Linked DNA regions of Homo sapiens: all the other regions are linked to region 1. Evidence: promoter capture Hi-C in human tissues and cell types (Jung and others, 2019). All regions are on one chromosome and are shown on one strand. The core of a region is centred on a gene start or on the middle of the fragment in contact, and the rest is flanking DNA. Distances in the headings are between cores, read along the strand shown. Region 1 holds the start of MRPS12 (mitochondrial ribosomal protein S12). Region 2 holds the start of RASGRP4 (RAS guanyl releasing protein 4). Region 3 holds the start of MAP4K1-AS1 (MAP4K1 antisense RNA 1).

Region 1 (3,261 bases), core at 330-2,829:
GGCAACATAGTATGTCCCTGTCTCAACAAAAAATACAAAAGTTTAGCCGGGCGTGGTGGTGTCTGCCTGTAGTCCCAGCTACACGGGAGGCTGAGTGGGAGGATTATTTGAGCTCAGGAATTCAAGGTTCCAGTGAGCTATAATTGTACCACTGTACTCCATCCTGCCATCCTGGGCGACAGAACAACACCCTATCTCAAAAAAAAAAAAAAAAAAAGTGGATTCTAGGCCAGAAAGCACAGGTTAAAATTCCCACTCTGCCACTTCCCAGTTGCATGACCTAGCGCAAGTGAATTAGCTTCTCGAAGCCTTAGTTTCCCCTCTGATAAAATGGGAGAAATAATGGCACCTACTTCATAGAGTTGCTGTGAAAATTAAACGAGGTTAAAGTGAATAAAGCACTTCAAACAGGCTGGGAGGGGAGTCCAAGAGAGGAATGGGAAGACGTGGGGACCCCACTATCGTTAGCACCTCAACACAGAGATATTGTGAACCCGGTCCTAATTCCCTTTTATAAGTGCTAGCAATTTTATTATTATTCACCGCATATTTGCAACATCTAGAACACCGGAATATAGCAGTTGCACCTTAAGTATCAGTTTAATAGAACCATTCATTAATGGATTCATTCATTCATTCATTAACTCTATTTAACTGCCTGCTATGTGTGGCGGAGGTGCACAACTCTCCCTACCTCTCTCTCTAAACGCAAGAGCTCCACCACACCCCAGCCCTGACCCCGTCCGATTCACACTTGGCTCCCCATTTTCCTTTGTGGTCTTAGGGAAAGGCTGGCATGAGGTTGCAGCACGGAGGGCAATGTCACATAGCAAGTTCCTAAAGGACAGGAGGTACCCAGCGAGCAGTATGAAACAAGCGCATAATGGGTGTCCAGGACACAGTAGGCATTCTTGGCACATAGTAGGGCCTCAGCACTCACTGGACAACTGGCACATAAGTGGGTGCCATGCACAAGACGTTGGCTAACTTGGGAAATAACTAAAATTCCTACTACAGGTTCGCCCCCTGCCGGAGGGCATCTTGCAAACCCAATTCTTCCGTAAAGCAAACGTCTGCGCCCCCCGGCCGGCGCAGGCGCACTCACGATCGCGGGCAGGTCCGCCGAGCGCAGCTCCCCCTTGCGGAGCTCCAGGGCGTGTGCGGCCTCTTCTGGGCATGCGCAGAACCGCTCTATGTCCAGCTGAGGGAGTGCGCTGTAGCCCTCGCGCGCATACTCGTACAGGAGGTTCCGGTTTCGTTTCTCTGTAGTGAAACTTCTCCTTGGACTATCGTTGGAGATGCAGCCTCCCCGGGGCCGGAACCCCCGACGAGTCAGCAAAGGCCACAAGCGCCGCGCCATGGACGCAGCCATCTTGGACCGGGAACAAGGCGGCACTTCGTCCCGCCCACTCCGCGTTTAGACCAATTGCAAGGCAGCGAACCTGACCGTGACGAGCCAATCAGATCCTGAGGAAAGTTGACCGCGATAGAGTCCTTCGTCGCCCAATCGTCGTCTGTGTCCCGCCTCTTCAGTGACGCGAGGCAGAACCAGCCAATCCCTGCACGGATAGCGCCCGGAAGAGGCTAGAAGCTGGATTCAGCGTGTCCGCGACCTCACCTTTAGGTCCTGTGAGGTCGGTGGAATCCTGGGGTCCTCCAAATCTACCAGGCCATCTCCCCAGTTTCCCAGTTCTTCCTGCGTGCGGGCGAGAGTGGTTGGGCCCTCGGGAACCCACTCAGAGCGAGGCTAAATTTACGGAGGGACTTTCTGTTAGCAGCATGAGGGCCTGTGGTTAGACCTATAGAGGTATTTCCTTTGATTTAAGCCAGAAAGTCCTGAGAGCGGATCGGGGAGCATTTGCGGATCGGTCACTTTTTCCTCCTTTCTGAGTCTCTTATCCCCTACCACAGGGACGGCCCAGGTGGCAGGATGTCCTGGTCTGGCCTTCTCCATGGCCTCAACACGTCCCTAACTTGTGGTAAGTGGGGGACTTGGGCTTCAGGGACGAGGCTAGAGGGGGAGGGTTATTCGCTCTTGGACTTGTGTGCCTCCGTCGGAGCCCCGAGGGAAACGGGGGTGGAAAAACACGGTGGGGTTTTGGCAGAGCTAGGGCTGCTAGAGCAAGAGGTGGGAAGCAGCTGCATGGAGGGCTACTGCGTGTCAAGCGGCGTTTGGGTCAGTTTTATTATTTATTTATTTAAGATCTCCCTCTGTCGCCCAGGCTGAAGTGCAGCGGTGTGATCACAGCTCACTGCAGTCTCGACCTCCTGGGCTCAAGTGATCCTCCCGCCTCAGCCTCCCAAGTAGCTGGGACCACAGGCCTGCAGAACCACAACCAGCTAACTTTTTGATTCTTTGTAGAGAGGGAGGTCTCCCTGTGTCGCCCAGTCTGGCCTTAACTCCTGAGCTCAAGTGACCCTCCACAGCCTCCAAAAGTGCTAGGATTACATGCATGAGCCACTGAGCCTACTATTATTTTAAACAGCATTAAAAATAATGCTTCCTGGCCAGCCGTGGTGGCTCACGCCTGTAATCCCAGCACTTTGAGAGGCCGAGGTCAGGAGTTCGAGACCAGCCTGACCAACATGGTGAAACCCCGTCTCTACTTAAAAATACGAAGATTAGCCGAGCGTGGTGGTGGGTGCCTGTAGTCCCAGCTGCTCAGGAGGCTGAGACAGGAGAATTGCTTGAACCCAGGAGGCAGAGGTTGCAGTGGGCCAAGATTGAGGTACTGCACTCCAGCCTGGGCGACAGAGTGAGACTTTGTCTCAAAAAAAAAAAAGAAAAAAAAAAAAAAGGTAATGCTTCCTTGAAGAATAAAGAGTTACTTTTGTCTGTAGATAACATTAGATGTGAACAAATGCATCTTTGTAAAGTGCTTTAAACAATGCCTAAAACACCAAAATTGAGTTGCTACTACTCTAAGATCTGTTCTCTGGGATAATAACCCCTTTCGGCCCTCTCCAGGCCCAGCTCTGGTTCCCCGGCTCTGGGCTACCTGCTCCATGGCTACCCTGAACCAGATGCACCGCCTGGGGCCCCCCAAGCGGCCGCCTCGGAAGCTGGGCCCCACGGAAGGCCGGCCGCAGCTGAAGGGTGTGGTCCTGTGCACGTTTACCCGCAAGCCGAAGAAGCCCAACTCAGCCAATCGCAAGTGCTGTCGAGTGCGGCTCAGCACTGGCCGCGAGGCCGTCTGCTTCATCCCTGGGGAGGGCCACACCCTGCAGGAGCACCAGATTGTCCTTGTGGAGGGCGGCCGC
Region 2 (3,261 bases), core at 366-2,865, 500 kb before region 1:
GGTGTGTGTCAATGGGGGGGGGGGTCTCACTATATTTCTCAGGCTGGTCTAGAACTCCTGGCTTCAAGTTCTCCTTGTCTTATCCTCCCAAAGTGCTGGGATTAGAGGCATGAGCCATCGTTACTAGAAGGGACATTTTAAAGTATTATATATGTCCTAGGCTAAGGAAGGAGCATTCTAACTAAGTCAGCATTTCCCTAAGTGTGGGCACCCAGCTAGTACCAAAAGCATCACCTGGGAACTGGATATCAATACAGATTCTCAGGTCCCAACCCAGACCTACAAAATCAAACACTTTAAGGCTAAGGGTGGTGGCTCATGCCTCTAATCCCAGCACTTTGGGAGGCCGAGGTGGGTGGATCACGAGGTCAAGAGATCGAGACCATCCTGCCCAACATGGTGAAACCCCATCTCTACTAAAAATACAAAAAAGTAGCTGGGTGTGGTGGTGCACACCTGTAGTCCCAGCTACTTGGGAGGCTGAGGCAGGATGATCGCTTGAACCCGGGAGGCAGAGGTTGCAGTGAGCCAAGATTGTGCCACTGCACTCCAGCCTGGCGGCAGAGCGAGACTCCGTCTCAAAAAAAAAAAACAAAAAAAAAAAAACCAAACACTTTAAAGGTAAGCCCAGCAACCTGTATTTTACAAGCCCTCCAGACAGTTCTGAGGCTCGCTCCAGTTTGAGAACCACTGGTCTAGAGTGTCTCATTGAGTACTTACAGGCCTCTCCGAGGTAGAGGATATGATTGTTCTACTGACAGAAGAAAAACCCGAGACACAGAGCAGTTAAGTGACTTACCTAAGGTCACACAGCTAGGAAATTAGGCAGCCAGGAGTCTACCACTAAACTGCTGGGTGGGGAGGAAAGCCCTTTGCCCATCAGAGTGGTGCTGGGGGTGGCAGGAGGAGTTACCCAGGCTAGGGAGCCACCCACCATCTGCCTCTGTGGGGACAGAAGGGCCAGCTTGCCCAGGAGATGAAGCCCATTCCAGAACCGGCCGCACAGCCAGCCACTAGGCCCTGTCCTGCAGCCCCCTGTAGGGGTCTGGAACAGCCAGGAGTGGTTTAAGAGGCAGGGGAGTCGCCTTGCCCTGTGCCACACTCCCCTCTCCTGGGCCAGGCCCTGCAGGAGCCTGGAGTTTCCAGTCCACGGGGATGGGGAACCAGGAAGCCCCCAGGGAGGGCAGAGACACTCAGCCCAGGCCAGGGATGGAGGTGGGGTGATGAGGAGTGGAAAAGGGGCACGGAGCAGCTCAAACTCCAGGGACAACACGGTACAGATGCCACATACAAGCGACTGCAGCCGTAGCTGGCTCCAGACTCCCTGAAGCATCCACCTGGCCCCCCTGCGCCTGATCCCAAAGAAGTCAGGAATCCTGCCACCCTGGCGAGTGATCTCCCCAGCCCTCCCATGCAGAGGGAGGCCTCAGGGTGCTGCCGGGCTCCCTGGGGAGGGTCCTCTCACCTCTTACTGTCTTTTCTGTTCATGCTTCCCGCGTGGGGTGAGGAGGCCGGGGGTCTTGCAAGAGTAGGGCTCAGCTCCTCCCCTTGCCCAGGACTCCAGCTTCTCAGCCCCTAGGGAGCTGGGGCCTCCTCGGTGCTTGGGAAGGAAAGAGGAACTGCCCCTCCCCACCCACCCTCAGGCCAGGGGGAAGGAAGAGGCTGGGGAGAGACCGAAGGCCCCCCTCCCCCACACGGGGATCCCTTCTGCTGAGGTTTCCGGCATCGCTGGCTCTCCCACCCTCAAGCTCCCCGGCGGGCTCTCTATCTCCCCCATCTTTCGGTGTCGAGACCCGTCACTGTCATACTTCAATAAAAGAAGGGGCTTTTCTTTTTAAAGCATGACTGATATTTATGTAAAAACACACACACTCACTCAAAAAGATAAGTCTGTCTGTCTAGAAGGACATATTCATATATATAATTCATGAAGGTTTGAATGGAAACTCACAAGACATAGTATTTTGTATATTTCTTCATAGGCGTCTCTTATTCCTAGTTTAAGTGATACCATTTGTACCCTGGAAAACATTTTCACTTTCTGACTTTATTGTAACAAACCTCCACATAGCACCTACTGTGTACCACACACTGCTGTAAGGACTTTAAAAATATTAACTCATTTAATCCTCACACAATCCACTGTTACCTTAAAAAAAATTACATACCGGACCAGGCACGGGGGCTCACAGGGGCTCACGCCTGTCATCCAGCACTTTGGGAGGCCAAGGCAGGCGGATCGCTTGAGTCTAAGAGTTTGAGACCAGCTTGAACAACGTGACAAAACCCCGTCTCTACAAAAAATGTAAAACGTTAGGCCGGTGTGGTGGCTCACTCCTGCAATCCCAGCACTTTGGGAGGCCGAGGTGGGCGGATCACCTGAGGTTGGGAGTTTAAGACCAGCCTGAGCAACATGGAGAAACCCCGTCTCTACTAAAAATACAAAATTAGCCAGGCGTTGTGGCACATGCCTGTAATCCCAGCTACTCGGCAGGCTGAGGCAGGAGAATTGCTTGAACCCAGGAGGCGGAGGTTGCCGTGAGCCGAGATCGCGCCATTGCACTCCAGCCTGGGCAACAGGAGCGAAACTCTGTCTCAAAAAAAAAAAGTTAGCTGAGCGTAGTGATGCACACTTGTAGTCCCAGCTACTCAGGAGGCTGAGGCTAGAAGATTGCTTGAGCCCAAGGAGGTCGAGGCTGCAGTGAACCATGATGGTGCCACTGCACTTCAGTCTGCGTGGCAGAGCCAGACCCTGTCTCAAAAAACAAAAAACAAAAAAAAAAAACACACACACACATCAAAAAACATTAGAGATGGAGGTAAAGCCTTGGGGAAGCCCCTCCCCATCCCCTGCCTTTCTTAAGCAGGGTGTGACCAATATGACACGTTGTCGAGTTTCGTCCAAACTGCTGTCTGTGCGTTTAAGCACATCATATAAACATGTGCTCCTAGAAACAGACTTTTCTTTTGAGTGTGCATTTTTTTCTTTTTACCTAAATGTGTCATGCTCGACACTTTTTTTTAAATTGAAGTACAAAAAAGATCACGAATCATTAAGTATTTAGGTTGATGAAATGTCACCAACTGAGCAAACCTGTGTGACATTCATACAAATCCAGACACAGAACATTCTCACCCTCCACAAGCCCCCTGTCTTTCTTCCCAGCACGAATTCCCACAGATCCCCACTCGCCCGAAGTCTGGCGCAGTAGTTTTGTCTTGTTTTGAGCTGGATAAAAATGGACTCCTGTATTGAATCTG
Region 3 (3,261 bases), core at 347-2,846, 340 kb before region 1:
GCTACTTGTGAGGGTGAGGCACGAGAATCGCTTGAACCTGGGTGGCAGAGGTTGCAATGAGCCAAGATTGTGCCACTAACACTCCAGTCTGGGGAACAGAGCGAGACTCCATTTCAAAAAGAGGGAAGGAACTGAGTGAGCAAAAATAAATAAATAAAAATACTAAAGTGTAAGGGCAAAGTCTGACACAGTATTCTGTGAGATAAACACCATTTTCCAAATGAGGACAGTGAGGCACAGGAAGGTTAAGTCATTTGCCCAAGGCCACTCAGCTGAATTCCAACCCAGACAGTCTTGTCTTAACTATCCATATATCTCTATAGTGGTCCCCATTTTACAGTTGGGGAACAGAAGCTTAAAGAGAAGCAACGTTGCCAGCCCAAGGTCACAGTAGTGGCCCAGGATGAGATTGGGACTCAAGAAATCCAAGAGCAGCCAGGTGCAGTGGCTCACACCTGTAATCCAAGCCACTTGAGAGGCTGAGGAGGGAGGATTGCTTGAGCCCAGAAAGTCAAGGCTACAGCTAGCTATGGTTGCACCACTGCACTTCAGCCTGGACAAGAGAGAGAGACCCTATCTCCAAAACAAACAGGCCGGGTGAAGTAGCTCACGCCTGTACTCCCAGCACTTTCGGAGGCTGAGGCGGGCAGATCACTTGAGGTCAGGAGTTCGAGACCAGTCTGGCCAACATGACAAAACCCCGTCTCTACTAAAAATACAAAAATTACCTGGGCATGATGGAGTGTACCTGTAATCCCAGCTACTCGGGAGGCTGAGGCAGGAGAATCACTTGGACCCAGGAGGCAGAGGTTGCAGTGAGCTCGGATCATGCCACTGCACTCTGCCCTGGGTGACAGAGCGAGACTCTGTCTCAAAAAATATATAAAAATGGCCAGGAGTGGTGGCTCACACCTGTAATCCTAGCACTTTGTGAGGCCAAGGAAGGCAGATTGGCTGAGCTCAGGAGTTTGAGACTAGCCTGGGCAACATGGTGAAACCCTGTCTCTACTAAAAATACAAAAAAATTAGCTAAGCATGGCGGCATGCACCTGTAGTCTCAGCTACTCAGGAGGCTGAGGCAGGAGAATTCTTTGAACCTGGGAGGCAGAGGCTGCAGTGAGCCGAGATCGCGCCACTACACTCCAGCCTGGGTGACAGAGCAAGAATCCATCTCCAAAAATAAATAAATTTTATCTATCTATCTATCTATCTATCTATCTATCTATCTATAAAATAGGCCGGGTGTGGTGGCTGACAGCTGTAATCCCAGCACTTTGGGAGGCCAAGGCGGGTGAATCACCCCAGGTCAAGAGTTCAAGACCATCCAGCCTGATGAACATGGTGAAACCCCGTCTCTACTGAAAATACAAAAATTAGCCAGCTGTGGTGGCGCATGCCTGTAATCCCAGCTACTTGGGAGGCCGAGGCAGGAGAATCGCGTGAACCCGGGAGGTGGAGGTTGCAGTGAGCCGGGATCGCACCACTGCACTCCAGCCTGGGCAACAAGAGTGAAACTCCGTCTTAAATAAATAAATAAATAAAAATAAAATAAAAAATAAATCCTGGGGCAAAGAAGGGGATCTATCTGAACTGAAATTTGGAAGATGTTTCCCCTCCAGGACTTCACACTCTGACTCAGGAGTTCTCGGAGCCCATCTGATGAATGTCATGATGGAGGCTGGGGGGCAGTGATGTGGAGTTTGGATGGAGGGGCTTACCTGATCCGAGCCTAGAGCCCACACCTGCACTCCATGCTTCCAGAAGGCCTGAAGCTGACCTCCAACCATAGCTGGGGAGAAAGCAATGCCCGTTACCCTTGGGGATCACTTGAGTTTCCACCCCTGATCCTGGGCTCTCCCGTCCCTGCACAGACCCACGGCCTCCACCGCTTCGGTCATGGGGATCTCAGGTGTGCGAAGTCCCCGGACTGGGGACCCCTCCGGGGTCACCAGCTTCACAGAGCCTGGAAGGAGATAGACGGTTTTAAGAACTGTGAGCAAGGCTTAGAGGGTTACTAAGGGACCAATCCATAAATTCAGTGTGAAAGCTATGTAGGACAGGGGCAAGGCCCAGAGGGGCTCAGGGGGTTCTGAGAAGCACAAGTTCGGAGGCAGAGATCTAGGGACTGCAGCTGGAGGGGTGGGGAGGAAGGGGAGGAAGGAGGGTTCTCACCATCCATCAACACCATCACCATATCTTCCTCTACCTGGGTCACCTGCACGGGTCCCCTGTGCTCTGTTTGGGGGGAGTGGGTTAAGGATTGACCCCACCCCATTCCCCTTTCCCCACACCACCCCCAGAAGGCCAGTACCTGTGCTTTAGCCACCGCCTCAGTTCACAAGCAAGTGGGCTAAACCCCGCCCACCATCCCGGTCCCACCCCATCATCAATCTCCCCAGTTAACTAAAACCTGCCATTCTCCCTTCTCCGCCCTTCCAGCCCTTTCTCAGTCCCGTAGTGCCTCAGGCTAAGCGAAGCCCCGCCTCCAGCTCCGCCCCTCCGGATCTGATAAGCCCCGCCCTCAGCAAGACTCCGCCCCACTCACCGGTGCTCATCTCGCCCAGCCAGCAAGAGAGCGCGCCAAAGCGCACCGTGTGGAAGAGCACCGACTTCCCCGGCCGCCCGGGGCTCACGCCGATGCACACAGCGGGCAGCTCAGAGCCTGGCCCGGTCAGCAGCGCGAACACGGACAGAGGCGTCGGCAGTGGGAACAGCACCTGCTGCGGGCCGCACAGGGAGGGGCGGGCTAGGGGGTGGTTCAGGACGGGGCCTCAGGGGGCGTGGCTTGTAGCTGGCCTGGGACTTCCGAACCAGGGCCCTAAGTCTTGGGGGATGCCGTCTAGAAATGTCAGGGGATAAGGCCTGGTGCCTCCGCGGGAACGGGGGTCGTGACCTCCGAGTGGGTGTGGCTTCCATGTGGGGGCATGCCACCTTGGCGGCAGACGGGCAGGGCCCCAAAGATAGCAAAACCTGCTTAGACACTCAAAGAGACAGGCTCTAAATGGGCTCTACTAGGACACCCAGGGAGTGGCAGCATTGAGCCTGAGGAATAATTAGGCCCAGGTGTGAGGGGCGGCGCTTAAGGATCAGGATGGCTTCAGAAGGACGAGGCTCCAAGCGCAGACCGCAGGTGGGCGGGGCCTCGGGAGATTGGGGCGGGGCCTCGACGGAGGTGGGGCTTCATGGAGCTCTTGATAGAAGCGCAAAGGGTGCAAGGCCTTAGCCACCCACTCCTCAGAGTTCCCAGCACCCTCCCAAGCC

The links. The method cuts DNA at HindIII sites, captures the fragments that hold promoters and counts their contacts. A contact is called where the count stands out against the background at its distance.
Region 2: a contact is called between the fragment with the promoter of RASGRP4 here and the fragment with the promoter of MRPS12 in region 1, in 1 of the 25 tissues and cell types used here (H1 embryonic stem cells).
Region 3: a contact is called between a fragment that was not itself captured here and the fragment with the promoter of MRPS12 in region 1, in 1 of the 25 tissues and cell types used here (pancreas).

Annotation. Positions count from the first base shown.
Region 1 is chr19:38,929,365-38,932,625 of GRCh38, forward strand. It overlaps MRPS12 (mitochondrial ribosomal protein S12), which reads left to right and starts at 1,580. Exons shown (of 3, transcript NM_033362.4): 1 at 1,580-1,634; 2 at 1,912-1,979; 3 at 2,969-3,261. The coding sequence starts at 1,931. SARS2 (seryl-tRNA synthetase 2, mitochondrial) reads right to left here and starts at 1,399. Exons shown (of 16, transcript NM_017827.4): 1 at 1,106-1,399. The coding sequence starts at 1,372. RefSeq lists an enhancer at 1,024-1,483. The HindIII fragment of the contact is 13,053 bases long and covers 1-3,261 here.
Region 2 is chr19:38,424,604-38,427,864 of GRCh38, forward strand. RASGRP4 (RAS guanyl releasing protein 4) reads right to left here and starts at 1,616. Exons shown (of 17, transcript NM_170604.3): 1 at 1,466-1,616. The coding sequence starts at 1,488. RefSeq lists a silencer at 1,492-1,551 and an enhancer at 2,444-2,958. The HindIII fragment of the contact is 24,204 bases long and covers 1-3,261 here.
Region 3 is chr19:38,593,767-38,597,027 of GRCh38, forward strand. It overlaps MAP4K1 (mitogen-activated protein kinase kinase kinase kinase 1), which reads right to left. Exons shown (of 31, transcript NM_001042600.3): 26 at 2,546-2,720; 27 at 2,173-2,235; 28 at 1,874-1,963; 29 at 1,719-1,789. MAP4K1-AS1 (MAP4K1 antisense RNA 1) reads left to right here and starts at 2,581. Exons shown (of 3, transcript NR_134907.1): 1 at 2,581-2,670. RefSeq lists an enhancer at 2,968-3,261. The HindIII fragment of the contact is 8,643 bases long and covers 1-3,261 here.